Regions from separate parts of the Homo sapiens genome. Here region 1 is linked to region 2. The links are contacts of gene promoters, found by promoter capture Hi-C in human tissues and cell types (Jung and others, 2019). All regions are on one chromosome and are shown on one strand. Each heading gives the region's core, a stretch centred on a gene start or on the middle of the fragment in contact. The rest is flanking DNA. Distances are from core to core; before and after follow the strand shown.

The links. Contacts are between HindIII fragments. The study calls those that stand out against the background at their distance.
Region 1: a fragment that was not itself captured here is called in contact with the fragment with the promoter of ATP6V1C1 in region 2 in 1 of the 25 tissues and cell types used here (IMR-90 fibroblasts).

Annotation. Positions count from the first base shown.
Region 1 is chr8:102,959,047-102,961,880 of GRCh38, forward strand. All of the region lies in intron 2 of MAILR (macrophage interferon regulatory lncRNA), which reads left to right. Among named protein-coding and RNA genes, the nearest start is that of ATP6V1C1, 61 kb to the right of the region's middle. RefSeq lists silencers at 2,695-2,744, 2,765-2,814. The HindIII fragment of the contact is 3,673 bases long and covers 1-2,834 here.
Region 2 is chr8:103,019,664-103,022,429 of GRCh38, forward strand. It overlaps ATP6V1C1 (ATPase H+ transporting V1 subunit C1), which reads left to right and starts at 1,420. Exons shown (of 13, transcript NM_001695.5): 1 at 1,420-1,562. RefSeq lists an enhancer at 1,650-1,859. The HindIII fragment of the contact is 15,691 bases long and covers 1-2,766 here.

The DNA of each region.
Region 1 (2,834 bases), core at 188-2,687, 61 kb before region 2:
TCATACTGCAGAGAAGCTGCTCATGAGAATCACCTGGGAAGGTTTTAAAACTCCTGATATGCAGGTCCCCAACACAGGCCAAATCAATCAGCATCTTGGTAGCTTTTTAAGCTCCCCAGGTGATTCTAATAGCCAAAGTTGAGTGTCGCTGGTATAGCGATTTTACTATTGTTATCATGTTTCAGATGTACCAAAAAAAATCCTGTTTTTGGGCCAGGCACGGTGGCTCACGCCTGTAATCCCAACACTTTGGGAGGCCAAGGCAGGTGGATCACAAGGTCAGGAGATCAAGACCATCCTGGCTAACACTGAGAAACCCCGTCTCTATTAAAAATACAAAAAATTAGCCGGGCTTGGTGGCACGTGCCTGTAGTCCCAGCTACTCGGGAGGCTGAGGCAGGAGAATGGCATGAACCCAGGAGGCGGAGGTTGTAGTGAGTTGAGATTGCACCACTGCACTCCAGCCTGGGCGACAGAGTGAGACTTTGTCTCCTCAAAAAAAAAAAAAAAAAAAAAATCCTGTTTTTGTATCTTGTTAAAGTCAGGCAATGTTTCCTATGCATTGTCATTGATAGAGTAGCCCTGTGCTGAGTATCTTAATGTTTCAAGCACCAATAGCAGGATTCGAGAGAAGTTGCCTACCCATGAAAGAAACCTAGACACAGGCCAGGGACAGCATGCCCCTTAATGCTGTGCTTGACTATGCTCAGGACAGTGGCAAACCTGACACTTGGTATTATTTCTCCAGGGTTCTACATGCGCAGGAAAACCTACACTGACATTTTATTTTATTATTTATTTATTTTTTTGAGACAGAGTCTTGCTTTGTCACCCAGGCTGGAGTGTAGTGGAGCGATCTCGGCTCACTGCAACCTCAGCCTCCTGGGTTCAAGCAATTCTCCTGCCTCAGCCTCCCAAGTAACTGGGATTACACGCACCTCCACCACACCTGGCTAATTTTTGTATTTTTAGTAGAGATGGGGTGTTGCCATGTTGGCCAGGCTGGTCTCAAACTCCTGACCTCAGGTGGTCCACCGGCCTCAGCCTCCCAAAGTGCCGGGATTACAGGCATGAGCCACCACACCCAGCCTACAGTAACATTTTAAACAGGACCTTTTTTCCCTGCCGGTAGATTTCAAGAAGTAGGTCATTGGATAGGTAGGTTTGACTTTTTCTCTTGGCCCACAAATCCATGACAATGGCACTAATAAGTTAGGCAACAGATATCTACTGATAGTGGTGCCCAGCAGTTAAGGGAGGAGCTGGAGAAGAAGCCCAAGGCCTCCAGGTTTTGACCAATGAGAAAAGGCATCCATAAATGGGATAGTTAACAAACAGTGCAGGGCAGAGTATAATCAAGGTTCCTGTGGTGGTAAGATCAGCAAGGACTGCAGAAATTCAGAGGAAGGAAAAATCAGTGCCCGCTGGAATAGGACAGAGAAGCTTTGCAACAAAGATGGTGGATGGAGGGGGTAAGGAGGGTCTTGGAGGAGGTAAACAATTTATATAATGTTCTTATCACTATTTAATACGTAGAATACTATTTATTACATTTACCAGGCATTGTGCTGATTTCCATGTATTGTCTTATTTACTCCACTCAACATCATAAGGTAAAGACTACAATTATCCCCATTCTGTAGAAGATGATTACTGAGGCGCAGAGAAGTTAAATAACTTGCCCAAGGTCACAATGCAGGCAAGTGACAGAGGAGGGTTTGAACCTGGTCTGTGTGCCTCCCAAGGCCATGCATATACTATACTATACTATACTATACTATACTGTACTGTACTGTACTGTACTGTACTGTACTTTGCTGTGCTGTGCTGTGCTGTGCTGTACTATACTATACTATACTATACTATACTATACTATACTATACTATACTATACTATACTGAATATCCACCATACTATGTTGAATATCCACTTAACACTTATCAAATGTGTGCCTGCAGGCACTTCCCTAACATTCTACATTATCCCATTTAATCCTCAAGACAACACTTTCAGGTAGGCAGTGCAATTATTTTCAAGTTCTGGATAAGGAAATGTGGGCCTAGAGGGGTAAAGTAACTTGCCTGAGGTCTAGGTTGCCAGGTAAAATACTAGACACCCAGATAAATGTAATAAATAATAAATAATCTCTTAGTAGAAATATTGCATGGGATGTACTCATACTAAAATTCATTGTTTATCTGCCATTCAGATTTAAATAGGTATCCAGTTTGCATTTGTTTGTTTTTGCTAAATTTGGCAATCTTACCAAGGTCACCCTGCAAAGCGAGGTTTGAATCAGGTGGTCTGACTGAGGGCCCACACTCATAACCACCGCATTCCAGATTGGCTGGAGAAGAAGGGTCAGCGCTAATACCAGCATGTGTGGGAGGAAGTGAGTGGACCTTTCCTCCTAGGATTTGCGCTTAGATTGAGGAAACCTGAGAAGGAGCAATGGATTCCTTCCCTCCCCTCCCCTGCTCTCCCCAGCTCCCTTGATACTGCGGCTACACCCACCTGCTGGTGGCGATAGAGTTAAAGGCCCTGGGCTATGCAGTCCCAGCCTTTAGTAACAAGTGCTTGGTTCTGACACCAAGAACAGAAGGAAGAGGAAAACAGGAAAAAATGAGTCAGTATGGGATCTGCAGACACTATCACATGCACATCTTCCTGTATAAATTGCAGGACCTCCCACGGGTAGATGCCTGTACCTACAAAACGATCACAGAAACCTGCAGCAAAACCACAGCAGCTGCACTTATGTGACCATCTTGTGGGCTGCTATTAGCAAGGGAACTAGAACGAGGTCAGGGAGGCTTTAGACCAGTCAGCTAATG
Region 2 (2,766 bases), core at 170-2,669:
CACTGGTCTCATGTGGCTATTTAAATTTTAATTAAAGTGAAATAAATTTTAAAATTCAGTTACTAAGTCACACTAACCATATTTCAAGTGCTCAATGGCTCCATGTAGCTAGTGGGTACTGTACAGACAGCACAGGATAACATTTGCATCATGGCAGAAAGTTTTAGTGGACCTAACCAAAAAAAAAATGCCTTTAGGCTCATTTCGTGATGGCAGATAAAAGCCTCTGGAATTCTGATAAGTTTCTGAAGCCATGTTATAGAACTGGTTATTGTAATTGCATGAACTTCATCCAAAACTGGTGAAAGCGTCAGGTTGGGGATAGTCTGGTGGTTGTTACTTTCTGTCCAACCTAATACTGAGGCTCTGAGAAATTCTGTGGTGAATTTCTGTAGGGGGACACAGCAGAAAAGGCATAGTATAGGTCAGAAAACCTGGGTCCTATAATACATAGTAATAATGACGACCATTTACTGGTTGTTTCCTATGTACCAGGCACTGTGCTAACCACAGGCTTCATTTAATCCTCACAATACCTGTGTAAGGTATTATTACCACCACTTTGCATGTGAACAGGCTGAAATTCAGAGGAGTAAGGTCACACAACTAGTAAGTAGGAGAGCCTGGATTCAACACCTGGTATCTATTCCCTTGCGCTGAACAACTCCGTGCCCTCACTTTCTTCATCTGTAGATCTAAAAGGATTAAATTAGAACATCTCAAAATTTCTACTACTTCTAAAACTCTGTGTTCTAAATTAGGACATTACTATCTATCTCCCCAAGCTAATGAAATAAGCAGGGTTCCTGGGAGGAGCTTGTTACCTATTTTTCTCCAAAGGAGATGCTTTCCCCTGTCTATGCCTCTGTCCTAAAACCTTTGGTTTCCCACTATCTAATGTGGTTTCAACTATCTATGAGGCGCTTTCGTGGCAAGGAGTGATTCTCTCCAGTAGGCAATCCTAAGAACGAGCGCAGTGCTTGGCGCACAGTAAATGCTCCATGGACCATTTATGAAATTAAGTCTAAGTGGACTTCAGGAAAATGTGAATCTGCTAAAATGAACTACTAGCCAGTATACTAGGTAGAAAACCCAGCTGACGAAGAAAACCCCAAGTGGAGAAGCCCTTGTAGGGGGTTGGAGACAATTTCTGACCCGCAGAAACCTGCAGTGGCGCTGACGTTTACAAGTGGTGGACAAAACGCCACTTGCAACACTGGAAGAAGCGGAAAACCCCACCCACTCTGGAACAACAGCGATCAGCCCCGAATATAGGGTCCCCTTGCCGCCCCGTAGCCTCCTAGTCCCGCCCCTCTCCCAAGGCCCGGCAGTGGCAGCGGCTGCGGCTGCGCAGTGGCGCGGGCGTAGGCGGAGCAGCGCGCGCCGCGGTCAGCTGACTGCTGGGCTGGCACGTGACTTGTTCTGTGTTCGCTTGGGTAGAGGAAGCCGTGAGGCCGGAGCTTAGGTCGGGAAGGGATGGATCGCTGAGCCGATAGCGTCCGCTAGGCTGTCTGCCTCGGTACCTGTTACTGCTGCTACTTCCTCGTTTGACACCTTCCTGGGTCAGTGAGCGATGGCTCTCCCCGGATGGGGAGTCCTGGTCAGGCCGAAGCATGAGCTCCGGTCGCTGCCTGGGAGGGACGCGGGTGGGTGCGGGGGCAGAGACCGTGGCGTTGGAGCTGGAGCTGGCTGGGTGGCTGTGTCTGGTTTCTCGGCGCCAATTCACCGTCTTGGGCCTAGGTTCCGTCTCTAAGGAAGAGAAGGAGGGAAAAAGAGAAAGAGCTCTCGTGGGTAGTTAATGACAGGCAGAAAGGAGAGATACAGCGGTCTGGGATCTTTCTTCTTGGGTAGGAATGCACGCCGCCTGATTGATTGAGGGGAATGAAGTGATAGGTCCAGGTGAGGCTATGGAGTGGTGTGTGTGAGGTCACAGCTAGCGCAAGTGCCTTCACTGGGTGTGTGTTGGGGGGGGCGCGGGTGTCGGGGGTCGGGGGTGGTGGGATGACAGTTTAAAGGCCTAGGAGCCCCTAACTGCAGGCAAGGAACCCTCACAGAGTACACAAGGTCCCTCTAGGAATGAGAAAGAACAGGAATCCAGAGAACTCAACTATTTTTTAGTAGAATGGGGGAGGGTAGGCAAACAAAACAGAACAAAACAAAACAAACCCCTAGAAAAGAACTTGGTGAGAGTCACATAAGGCATATTGAATCACTTGAGAAACAGGAGTAAGGGGGAAGCTAGTATTCTTTTCAGAGGAAAATTCTGGTATGTTAGGGAAAAATCACATGCTTCAGTGCGAGCCCAGTACTTAGCGCCGCTCTGGGAATGGAACGGGTGGGATGTGAACAGTCTATCCTTAGGAGTTAGCACTAACGTTGGAGAGAAAAGTCTACACACAGGACACGTTAAAATACGATGCAGTTTATGTATACTTACCAAAAAGAGAATGCGAAGTGCTTTGAAAGTGTGGAGCAACGACACATGTGTAAACTGGCACTATGGGAAGATATTCTGGAGGAAAGAAAACTTGAGTCTTGGCAAGCCCTCAGGATTTGAACAGGTTGAGAGAAATGGGGATAATTTTACAGGCAGGGAAAGCCACAGGATTTGAAAGCCTGAAGATGGGGGTAGGGAATGCTTCTGGTGGAGTCAGAAGTAGCTTTTACAGTGGATTGCACTGCGGAGAAGTGGGAAAGAAAGTTGGGAGTCAGGTAACGAGGACTTTTGAATGGTAGTCGTTTACTTATTCATGCAAATAATGTGTA